Linked DNA regions of Homo sapiens: region 1 is linked to region 2. Evidence: promoter capture Hi-C in human tissues and cell types (Jung and others, 2019). All regions are on one chromosome and are shown on one strand. Each heading gives the region's core, a stretch centred on a gene start or on the middle of the fragment in contact. The rest is flanking DNA. Distances are from core to core; before and after follow the strand shown. Region 1 overlaps MAP6 (microtubule associated protein 6). Region 2 holds the start of MAP6 (microtubule associated protein 6).

What was found. The method cuts DNA at HindIII sites, captures the fragments that hold promoters and counts their contacts. A contact is called where the count stands out against the background at its distance.
Region 1: a fragment that was not itself captured here is called in contact with the fragment with the promoter of MAP6 in region 2 in 1 of the 25 tissues and cell types used here (pancreas).

What each region holds. Positions count from the first base shown.
Region 1 is chr11:75,624,518-75,630,652 of GRCh38, reverse strand. The region is part of intron 1 of MAP6 (microtubule associated protein 6); the gene reads left to right. Among named protein-coding and RNA genes, the nearest start is that of MAP6, 41 kb to the left of the region's middle. The HindIII fragment of the contact is 3,340 bases long and covers 1,434-4,773 here.
Region 2 is chr11:75,664,854-75,670,835 of GRCh38, reverse strand. It overlaps MAP6 (microtubule associated protein 6), which reads left to right and starts at 1,798. Exons shown (of 4, transcript NM_033063.2): 1 at 1,798-3,371. The coding sequence starts at 2,467. The HindIII fragment of the contact is 8,929 bases long and covers 1-5,982 here.

The DNA of each region.
Region 1 (6,135 bases), core at 1,854-4,353, 41 kb after region 2:
TTTGAAGGAATCTATTTTTAGGAGTGACTAGTAGGTCACACCTATAAAATTCAAGATCTGGTATAAATAGTCTGAAATTTGGACTTCAGTCTGGACTTTTGTAGTATTCTATGATATATCAGATAGAAGCCTCTTTTAAAATTTTAAGTTAAATATTCATCATTAAATTATATCAGGTAAGATACAACATTATAGAAACAGATTCATTTCAATGCAGAACCTTTAATGAATATCAACTGTGAACTAGGTGCAATGGTTTACAAAAACAATTAAGCTGGTGATTCCTGCCAAACATGCAAAGAAAAATTAATACCAATTTTCACAAACTCTTCCAAAAAATAGAAAAAGAGAGAACACTTCATAGCTCATTCTATAAGGTCAATATTACCCTGACACCAAAACCAGACAAAGACACAAGAGTTCACCAGTGAAGATGGGAGGAGTTTAAGCCCAGGAGTCCCATGCTGGTTCTCTAACTGGGCTGGGTGGATTTCTGGGAGAGGGTAGAGTCGGAAAGTTCGGAAGACCACGATGAAGACAATGGTGTGAAGGTGGTGGTGATGATAGTTACAGCAGCACATGCACACACACTCGCATCACTCATATGAACACAGATTTGAAATCCAGTAGTGTGTTTTATCAAGCATTCTTCTCTAAGGTAGGTCCTAGCCTTGTCTTTGCTGTAGTTACTTATTGTGGTGGATATTAGAAGACATGAGAATTCAGTGTGTAGCTGATGAACAAGAACCGAGACTTTTGTTCCTCTGTCAACAAGACTTCCTCTCACTGCCTTCTTATTTTCTCTTCTCCTCTTCATTCCCCTCAGCCCACTCCCCTCCCGGCAATGCCCTCACTGTCCTTCAGTAACAGCTCCCTCCAAATACCACCATCCCTGTCAGTATATCTATAGCCCTGTTTACAAACTTGCATTCAGACCTAGATCTAATTATTTGGTTATGACACTGCAGTTTATATTAACCCTTTGACAAACAAGCAAGTGATAGCAGCTGTGGAATAAACTTTTTCCAATCCCTTTGACCTCAAAATAAAAGAATATAAGAATATAAAGTCAGTCTTTTGAGCAAAGTCTTTTGCCCTTTATAGTGAAAGCTTTATTGAATGCATGAGGACAGAATTAATTCAGGGAAAAAAATGTACTTCATATGCAGGATGCCAGAAAAGCTCCCACCCTGAGCACCACTTTTATTGGCACAAGTTGACCTGCAGAAGTCCCAAGCAGAGACACGATAGAAAGACCCAGGCTTGGCAGGGGGTGGTGGCTCATGCCTGTAATCCCAGCACTTTGGGAGGCCGAGTTAGGAGGATCACTTGAGACCAGGAGTTGGAGACCAGCCTGACCAACATGGTGAAACCCCATCTCTACTAAAAATACAAAAATTAGCCAGGCATTGTGGCACATGCATGTAATCCCAGCTACTTCGGAGGCTAAGGCAGGAAAATCACTTGAACTCAGGAGGCGGAATTTGCAGTGAGCCGAGATCGCACCACTGCACTCCAGCCTGAGTAAAGAGCAAGACTTTGTCTCAAAAAATAAAAATAAAAAAATGAAAGACGCAGGCTTTTCGTCTTTGTGAGCCTGAGTCCCAGCACTGCCACTTGCCAGCTCTGTGACTTTGGGCAGATCTCTTTACCTCACAGAGCCTCTGTGTTCCAACATGTAAAATAGGAGTAGTAACTTCTATCTTGCAGGGTTAATTTGAGATTAAATTAGATCAAGCAAATCTATTATTAAAGCTTCTGGCACACAGTAAGTTTTCATTCATTGTAAATGTAACTTTTACGTTCAACAAATGCAGCTCATCAGACATAATTGCAAGGTGATTTTATTTTTGCCTCCCACTATCCCTTTAAATTTATTCTCCAGGTCAAGTTCTTCCCCTCCCCTTTCACAAAATTTTGGATGGGTCTCATAACTTGTACAATATTTAGGGAAGTCTTGTAACTTGGCAAATGTCAGGAAATAAAAGTCCTCCAGTAATTTAAATGTTCAGTCCTATGTAATAGTCAAAGTAGTCAGTCTATTTAAAGTGAATGTTTTTCTCCCTCCTGCCGCTCTGGCCTGCTGCAGAGGAGATGCCTACAGTGGGCTTCTACTGCCCTGTCCTCCCCTCCCCCAGCTCCTCACCTTTCCAGGGTTGGTATTCGGGGAGCAAGGGCGGGGAGGAGGCAAGCTCTCGCTTGGACCCGTGTGGCCATGGTGACTGATGTCCCCCAGCAGGTGTTTAAGCTGGGATCTTTGTCTTGCGGGTGCTTTGCTGGGTTCTTTGGAGGCCCCCACCCATCACTTTGAATCTCATACCACAGTCCCTTGATAAATGTGAATCTCTCTGGCTGCTCCCATACTCCTTCCTCACCCCCAGCATCCTGCAGTCCCTCCAGCTTCTTTCTGGTGGGATCTGTTTGCCACTTCAGCTGGCCCTCTTGACCCCATCTGCTCCAGGAAAACAGCACCGTGCATTCTTTGCTCCAGCAAACAGAGTACAGGCCACCCCCAACACAACCATTTCTCTCTCCCTCTGCTCCAAGACCAGCTAGCCAGCTGTCTCCTGGGCCTTGTCTCTCAGATGAGTCAGCTATGGCTCCAGCACAGCCCCTGAGATCCGGGTGTCCTTGAGCCTCTCTCTTGATTTCAGTCGAAGGGAGAAGTAGCCCCGTCACAGCACACAGAGCTCTTGCCAACGTCCTCTCCCTCCACCATTCTCAGCCTTTCCTTTGAGGATCCTGCATTGTGACCTTGTGCCTGCTTTGGTATTGTCTCAGTGCCTCAGCTGAATGTTCCATTTCAGTTCTGGGACATGGCTCCTAATTGTAGTATTTTTGTTTAATTCTAACATCTCTACTTATTGCTGTCCAAGGTCAAGACACGGAACCCCCTGAGCTCCTGTTTCCTCATCTGTAAAACGAGGATGATAATAACAGTGTCTACTCCATAGGATCTCCATGACGATTGAATGAGGTAGTGAAAAAGTGTGCCTCATACAGTTTCTGGAACCAAGAAGCTTCTCTGTCATCTACCTTCACGATCATCACCATTACCATCATTAGTCTGAAAGCAAATCAGTTTCTCACTGTGACGGTCCCCTTGTTTTCAGGTCCTTTTGTTTCCAACCCTCCCTCCTCCTACTGTTTGGCCAGAGCACACACACACAAAGACACATACAGACATGGACGTACGTGCAAGCACAGCCACATGTGCAGAGCAGAGGCCGTTTAGGCGTGTCTTTGATGCTGACACTTCCACACCCAGCACTCTGGTGCCCCTTACTAACTGGTTTATCTCTGCACACTGCCCTCCCAGGAACCTAATTAAGTTGTAGGCCTGTGTGAGGCCAGCTGCTGCTGGACCATCAGCATCTCTCTTCCAGGACCCCTAGGTCTCTCCAAATGGCACAGAGTTCCCTGGGGCAGAAAGACGGGCTAATCCCATTGTTGGGAAGTCAGGTGCGGAGTGTCTGTGTTGAATGATTACAAGCATGAAGATGATTTTTGAATCTCACAGAGGGATGCTCTGCATATTTCCTCTCTGCTTTCAGCCATTTCCTAGGTTATACACAGTTTGGCTCTGCTCCAAAAAGAGAAAACATAAGTAATAGGACAGTAGGCCTGTTTTCAATTTGTAATGCATTTTTTTCTGCCACCCGTCACAATTAGATTTCACTCATCGCCTCCTGCCAGTGGTTACAGGGCCCACTCTGGGCCTCCTCACCTCCCTCTGTTTCTATGGGTTATAGCACCTCTGATATCAAATGACTCAAATCATTTATTTTCCTCTTCTGCCCTTCACTAGATTGTGGGCTCCTTGTCTTTTCTTCCCAGGGCCTGGATCGTAGTCTCTCTGAGGCCCTAGATGAGTAACCTCACCTCTCTGAGCTTAGTTTCCTCATCCATAAAACAGAAAGTAATAGTGCCTAACTCAAAAGGTGGCTCTGAGATTTAAATTAAGTAATGAATGCAAAGCACCTGATACACAGTGGGCCCTCAGTAAAGGGTACCGATATTATAATTGCTGCAGGCACTCAATAAATGCCTTAAATAATTTATTAGCAGAAGTGACACTAAGTTTGTAATTTAGATTATTATTAAATAAAACATACTTGAATCTGCAGCCTCCAGTCTCTCCCTATCCCAGCCTCTTATTGCCCCAAAGTGGTCTGAGTCACCAAAACAAAATACCTCCCGGGCCACATCATCACGTCACTCCTCTGCTCTTAGGTCTTGAGTGGCTCCTGCTGCTTCCAGGGTCAAGCCTGAGCTCCAGTGTGTGGTCCCTCCTTACCGCTCCACCTTCTTTGCCTCTACTGGCCTTCATATAATTCTTAGCTATAAAATGAAAGTGTTCAGATGTCTGTCCAGCTCTGCTACTCCATGATTCTTATGCAGTCATATTCACTCAGCAAGCCTTTTCTCAGTGCCTGCTCTGTGCTGGGCTAGGCTCAGATACGCTCCTGTCCTCTAGGGCATCCAGTTCAGAGAGGATATATGCTTGTCAAGAGATGACTGCAGCAGACTGGGATGCCGTGTGGAAGCTGGAGTGAGAGTTTTCATCCTGTCTTAGGGGTCAGTGATGGCTCACAGAGGTGATACGTGTGAGGTCAAGCAAAGAGCATGGGGCCTGGGAGAGCATTCTAGAAAGAGAGCAATATAAGCAAAGACCAGGGATGTAGATAAGCTACTCAGAGGACGAGAGTGGGAGGCAATGGGCCTACAGAAGTGGGCTGTGCTGGACTGGACCCGTGGTCTGGCTGGGGAGTCTGGCCTTGATCCTCCAGATGAGGAATTAACAGAGGTCTTTTAATCAGGCCAAGCCTATTTTCAACCATGGCAGAAGTGTGCCTCCCTTCTGGTACTGTAATTTGTGCATGTGATTGGTACCAAATTTTATTTTGATATTTAAGTAAGAGAAAAAAGTTGTGGGATTCTTTTTGTTTGTTTGTTTTTTGTTTTCTGTACAGAAACTGATTGCTGTAGAACAGTAGGAAAGTGTCAGATCTGAAGTTAATGGTTCACTCTTGAATTTGAGTTCTGGTCCTCCTGTTTGTTAGCTGTGTGCCCTTGAGCAAATCGCTCACCTCTCTGGGCTTTGGTTTTCTCATTAGAATGAGGGGAGGTCCCTGCCTGGTGGCACTGTGTGGGGATTGAGGGCATGTTTGTGCAGCATCTGGTGCACACTGTAGGCCCCAACATCCTCTTCTCTTCTCTCCCCCTCAGTCTCAGGATGCCAGCCTGACCACCTGCATAGCTGACAGATAAAGAATGCAGGGTGCTGATGCGAAGGAGGCTTCCTTTGAAATATTAATTGCTTCCCCCAAAGACTAGGTGTTTTCAAGGGCTTTGTTTGCTCAGCTGAATGCACATGACATGATGGGCTTGGACCTGCCATCCCAGGCTGCCTGGAAAATGCCTCTAAAGATGACTCCAAGCGCTGTGGCTGTGCTAATGAGTTTGTGGGGATGATCTTCTTATGAATGCTGGGAGGGAAGGATTGCAGAAATGTCAGTGCCTCTCCTTCCCTGCCTGAAAATCCCTACTCTTCTAAAACTGCCCTGAGATTCCTCGGCGAGGCCCTTGAACTCCCAGAGCACCTGCTCTCCCCAGGCTCTGGTGTGTACTTTTGTTTTCTTTGTGTTGAGTGAGGCTTACTGCCCCACTCAGCTGAACATTGTTAGAGGCCAGTTCACATCTTTTTGTTACTCTAGGATGCATCCTCAATGCGTGTTGAACAGAATCGCCAGCAGAGGCCCAGCGGCATGAAACAATGCTTACTATGTAGGCTGAGCACCTGCTGTGTGCAAAGTGTGTTCAGTAGGCACTTGTTGTCCATTGGAATATGAGCCTGGAGCCAGGTAGGGACGTGCTGTGAAGGTGATCATGCCTTTCGAAAGAACATGACTATTCTCCTGATGGGTCTATGCATTATGCTGACTTGTGCCCTTAGCCTTTTTCTATCTACTCCCTTTTTTGGCCTATATTTAAGTTGCATCTCGGGTAGAAAAGAGAAGCAGAAAATTCAAGGCAGGGATAGTTCATGCAGACACAGGCTAATGAACATGCTTCAGGCATCTACAGGGCAGCTCGTGGAGCTTGAGATACGGAGTTGGATGGGCCTGGGTTCCA
Region 2 (5,982 bases), core at 549-3,048:
TTAAAGAAAATCTGTGTTGTGCAACCCATTTATAATCTAAACACATACATGACTTTCTCTCCCTGAAACACCAATGCTCCCAGCTTAACTGATACTGAAAACTCTGCCTATATTGGAGGGGAAAAGAGCTGAAGTCCAGTGGATGTAGCTAGTGGAGGAGTGCAGGAGACATAAATGGAGAGATAGCAAAGACAGAACAAAAGTTACTTGGAGGAACAAGAGGTCTCCTGGAGAAGGTGTCCAAGTGGCTTCTTAGGACACTCCACTTATGGGTCTTCTGGGTGGGCCTTTTGGATACTAATAGCTACCATTTATTGAGCCATTGCCATATGCCAGATGTTGTGGTAAGCATTTTTAGTGCATTATCTCATTTTAATTCTCAGAACAACCTTGCAAGTTCAGTATTGGTACCCCCATTCATAGATGAAACTGAAGGTCAGAAGATTGCAGTGATTTGCCCACTGCCATACAGTTAAGAGCTACAAAAGCCAGGATTTGAATCTCTGCAGATTAGATTTGACTCAAAGCTTCTGCCCTGGGTCCTTCGCTATCCTCACAAAACCACTTTTTTTTTCTTTTTGAGATGGAGTTTTGCTCTTGTCACCCAGGCTGGAGTGCAATGGCACTATCTCGGCTCACTGCAACCTCCACCTCCTAGGTTCAAGCGATTCTCCTGCCTCAGCCTCCTGAGTAGCTGGGATTACAGGCACGCACCATCATGCCCAGCTAATTTTTGTATTTTTAGTAGAGACAGGGTTTCACCATGTTGGCCAGGGTGGTCTTGAACTCCCAACCTCAGGTGATCCACCGGCCTCAGCTTACCAAAGTGCTGGGATTACAAGTGTGAGCCACGACGCCCGGCCCACAAAACCATTTTTGAGGCAGGTAGTATTTCCTCCATTCTACAGATGAGGAGACTGAAACACAGGGATGACTCAACTTGCCCAAGTGGCACAGAGAGTAGCAGAGCCAAACCAGGTCTTTCGGACTTCAAAATCTCTTCTGCTTTGAAGATAGAAGAAGAGCAACGGCGAGGAGTGAGAACGTGCCAGAAGGCCCCTGCAGGCCAGGCACTGCCGTTTCCTAGGGCACAGGTCCTACCTACTCCCAACCTCCACAATTAAGCCACTTTCCAGAATTTTCTTTTCTCTACCTCTGCCCCAGTGTGGCACCTGAACTGAACAGGGACTGGGCGGTTCTTGGGGGAGTCTAAAACATACCTTCGCAAAGATTCCCTAGGAAAGGAACATCCAGGGCACCACCAGCCCTGGTGCTCCCATTCCGACACATCTGAGCAAGGCCTGTGCGTAAGACTGGCAAGTGCTTGAACCAGGAGGCAACCAAACTGGGCTCAAACACAGCCCGCCGGTTTTGACCAATTCCAGCAGCTCCCCTTTTCAAAGCATCTATTCTGGGACAGACATTTCACTAGGAGTTTCCTCCATGTTTTAAAATTTAATAGCACCCCCCCCCCCCATTGGCCCTATTTTACAAAAGAGGAGCCTCCGACTCCTGGGGATGAAGCGACAAGCACAAGGACAGAAAGTCCTCACGAGCTTGGGACTTGAACCCACTACGTCCCCAGATTCTGCTGTTGCCCGGGAGTAGAGGAGGGAGGAGCTGCCAGGGCGGAGGGTGGTGGGGAGGGAAGGCAAGCTCCCAGCAGCGCAAGCTGACGACAGCAGGTGTTTTTGTTTTGTTTTGTTTTTTTCTGCAGCACTCTTTCAGTCAGCATCGTTCCTGGATTTTTTTCTCACTGCTGAGCAGCATAAAAGGGTGGGGCCGCTTCCCTGCAGCAGAGGCAGAGGCGGCGGCGGCAGCGGCTGCAGCATCATTCGCGGGCAGCGGCGGAGACCGAGAGCTGCAGAAAAGGGTGGGGTCGCTTCCCAGGAGAAGAGGCGGTGGCGGCGGCGGCTGCGGCATCCTCGCGGGCAGCGGCGGAGGCAGCAATGCTCGGTCTCCGCTGGAGGTGATGGCCTCCCAGCCCTGCTAGGTGGCCGGCTGCACTAGGACGCCGGCAGGAAGGAGACTCGAGCCCGGTCCGCGGACCCTGCGGCCACACCGCCCGGCCCCTCCTCTGCGCCATGGCTTAAGCCTGTAGCCACCTCTCCTCACGTCGCCTCGCTCGACCGAGGTCTGTGCGCCGCCGCAGCCGCAGGGAGGGGCGCGTCCCAGACACCCTCGCCGGGGACTCGGGAACGCCGTGCGTCTCACCCTTCGGCGCTCGCAGCAGACTGCGCTCCCAAAGGCGTTTGCGACCGGTAATCGAGGGACTCTACAGACTCTCCTAGGACAGCTCTCCCCGGGTGCTCGCTGAGGGAGGAGGGCGAACTAGCTCCGGCTGATCGGGGGTAGAAAACGGTGGGAACCACATTGGCCGGTCAGGATCGGAGGCTGAAGGAAGATTATAGAGACTTGCTTTAGAACCACAAGAAGAAAGAGGAGGCCGGCTTTTCAGCTAGCATCATGGCGTGGCCGTGCATCACGAGGGCCTGCTGCATCGCCCGCTTCTGGAACCAGTTGGACAAAGCGGACATCGCTGTGCCGCTGGTTTTCACCAAGTACTCGGAGGCCACCGAGCACCCGGGCGCCCCGCCGCAGCCACCGCCGCCGCAGCAGCAGGCGCAGCCGGCGCTCGCGCCCCCCTCGGCGCGCGCGGTTGCCATAGAGACGCAGCCAGCCCAGGGCGAGTTGGATGCAGTTGCCCGGGCAACGGGGCCAGCGCCTGGGCCTACCGGCGAGCGCGAGCCGGCGGCGGGCCCCGGCCGGAGCGGGCCGGGCCCGGGCCTGGGCTCCGGCTCCACCTCCGGCCCCGCGGACTCGGTGATGCGGCAGGATTACCGAGCCTGGAAGGTGCAGCGGCCCGAGCCCAGCTGCCGGCCGCGCAGCGAATACCAGCCCTCCGACGCTCCCTTCGAGCGCGAGACCCAGTACCAGAAGGACTTCCGCGCCTGGCCGCTGCCGCGCCGCGGGGACCACCCGTGGATCCCCAAGCCCGTGCAGATCTCTGCGGCCTCCCAGGCGTCGGCGCCCATTCTCGGGGCGCCCAAGCGCCGGCCGCAGAGCCAGGAGCGCTGGCCAGTGCAGGCCGCCGCTGAGGCCCGGGAGCAGGAGGCGGCCCCCGGCGGAGCGGGTGGCCTGGCGGCCGGAAAGGCGTCCGGGGCGGACGAGCGCGACACGCGCAGGAAGGCCGGGCCTGCCTGGATTGTGCGCCGCGCCGAGGGCCTGGGGCACGAGCAGACGCCGCTGCCCGCGGCCCAGGCCCAGGTCCAGGCCACCGGCCCCGAGGCTGGCAGGGGGCGCGCCGCGGCGGACGCCCTCAACCGGCAAATCCGCGAGGAGGTGGCGAGTGCAGTGAGCAGCTCCTACAGGTGAGACGCGGCCGCTGCTAGCGCGGGGGAGTCACCACGCAGACCCTCCCCGCGGGCTGCCCGGGGCCCAGGATCCCCAGCGCAGGCCTAGCGTGCAGCCTCCCTCCAGTCCCAGGCCACACCCTCTCCCCAGCCGCCTCCCAGGCCACCTCCTGTCGAAGCCTTCTCTTCTGCCCTGTCCCATGCGCAAGCTGTTAGTATATTCCATCTCAGCCTGCCTGGCTCTTTCACTTTACCGCTGTAGCCCTTTTCTCCATCCCTCCCACCTCAGATCCCTGCCTTCCCACAGAGACCCTTTGCAATGTCAGCAGAGGCTGTGCTTCCGTCGTGCCCCCATCCAACTCACCTGCTGCGTTAGCCTGGATGTTGCCCTTTGCAGGGTCCCCATTCTTCCAGAAGAAGAATTCTTTCCAAGTGGCCTCTCGCCCTCCTCCCTAGCCCAGTTCCCTTGGCCCTTCATTCTTTCCTCCCTTTCTCAGTCTCTGGGCAACACCCAAGCACCATACCTTTTTCTAGATTACCCACAGGATCTTTACAAATTACCCCCCACCTTCCACCGCTGGAACTTTGAAGTCATTGTCCTTCCACCTCTCCCTAGCTGTGACATATTGGGCAAGTTTCCTAACCTTTCTGGGCCTCATGTTCTTATCTGTAAGATGTAATTGGTAATAGACATCTCTTAGGATTGTTCACACTTTTATTGATTTAATATTAAACATTTTATTTTTATTTAGTTAATATTAAATATTCAACATATTTTTGAGTGCCTACTATATGCCAGGCAGTGTGCCGGACATTGTGAGGATTAAATGAGATAATCAGGAGAACAGCTCGTGCCTAGCACATAGTGGTAATTAGTACATCTTGGTTCCATTCCTACCTTCCACATGATACCTTATGATCCTACTTCCTAGGTGCCTCCAGCCTTCTCTGCTATTGAGGCATCTTCTTTCTCTCTCCTTTCCCTACATGTTCTCCAGATGTCTCTCATTCTCTTGCCACCAAAAACCCCTTTCTCCAGCACACTCAATTCCTTGCAAATGAATGCTTTCAAGCATGAAAATCTCTCTCTCTCTTTCCTTCTAGAATTTTCCCTCTGCTGCAGCTTCAGCCATTCCAGTCTGCTTTCTTGCCCTTCATCCATCCGGTATATATTTCTGAAGGCTTAGCTTTCAATTCTCCCCTTATGTTTCAACCAACATCAATTAGCTAACAGAACACAGTTGACTCTGGACATGCAACATTGCATTTGGGGTCTCTCGGGGAAGATCTGTATGAAAGTAATTGAGCTAGAGGTGTTCAAAATGCAGCTTATGGGGTCCTTTATCAATGCCACAGCTTTCTGCTGCCTCCTTCCTGCAAGAGGGTGTGGGGGGCGGGGAGGACTAGAGAGTTAGTCCTTTGCCAAGACTCTGTATATAGGTTAGACTAATATCCTTCTCCAGTGAACATTACCAATACTCTCTCATAGGCTGAGGAAAGAATAGCATATCCAGACATCCTTCATGTTAAGAGAAAATCTGTCCCCCAACTCCTACCCCTGCATTTCTCATCTTCCTGAATTCCACCTCCCACTTGGCATCTCTCTCTTGGTTTATTGCTATCACAACAACCACACTGGGAACCCAGGAGTACAGCACTTCCTTTGAGCTCTTGGTCAAACAAGGACATAAATCCTTTTCCTTGAATAGCCATGAGATGGTAGAATGTTCACTATGTTTTTATGCTGCTACCAAGCGGGGAGCAAAAGAAAAGAGGGGAAACAAATAAGCAGGAGACATAAAAAACAAAGGCAGGATGTAGTTTTCTAGTTCTGCTATGGCTTGCTTGCTTCAAGACCCTACTTCATTTCTTGATCTTCCTACCCTGAGAAGCCCACGTCTGGCCCAACATCATAGATTACTGGCTTGGCCTCTTCATCTTCCCACTCTCATTCTAGCACCCTGTGGCAGGTGGAACCTTACTACCCACTAGCAGGAGCTGTCTCTTCTCACCACCATGCAGTCAATGCCAATCAAGAGAGATTCCAGATTCTTAAGCCTCCTTGGGTGATCCTACTCAGTTTATGATTTCAAGTTGGCAGGACTTGCTTTGTTTATGGATGAGTGGCCTGTCAGTCAAGGAATGACCACATCCTTTGAATATAACGCACTCCAGATTTGGGGTTGTACCTTGTTCCATATAGCCTTTTTCCTCAAAACAACAGCTTAGCTGTGCAGTAAGCATGTCGTGCTTCACATGCCATGCTTCACATTACACACATACTGGAAATGACTGGATTTGGTGGGGGAAGGCTATGCCCTCGGAGCTGGTGAGAATGATTATTTTTAGCACCTATCAATTCTATTAACCTGTCAAAAAAATCTTTGAACACCTCAAAAAAATTTTTAAATTTAGGTCTTTTGTAAAATTTAATTATACCTATGGCTTTCGGGCCAGGAGTACTATTTTGCTATATAATCAAAAGGGTTTTGAAATATTAAGGGAATGATTATTGCTAAGAAACATCAATTTCTTCAATGAACAATTTAAGTGCATGACAAATTTGATGTGAAATTTAACGGGTTTTTTTTTTGTTCCAGAATAAAAATTAACAAATAATTGAGAAATT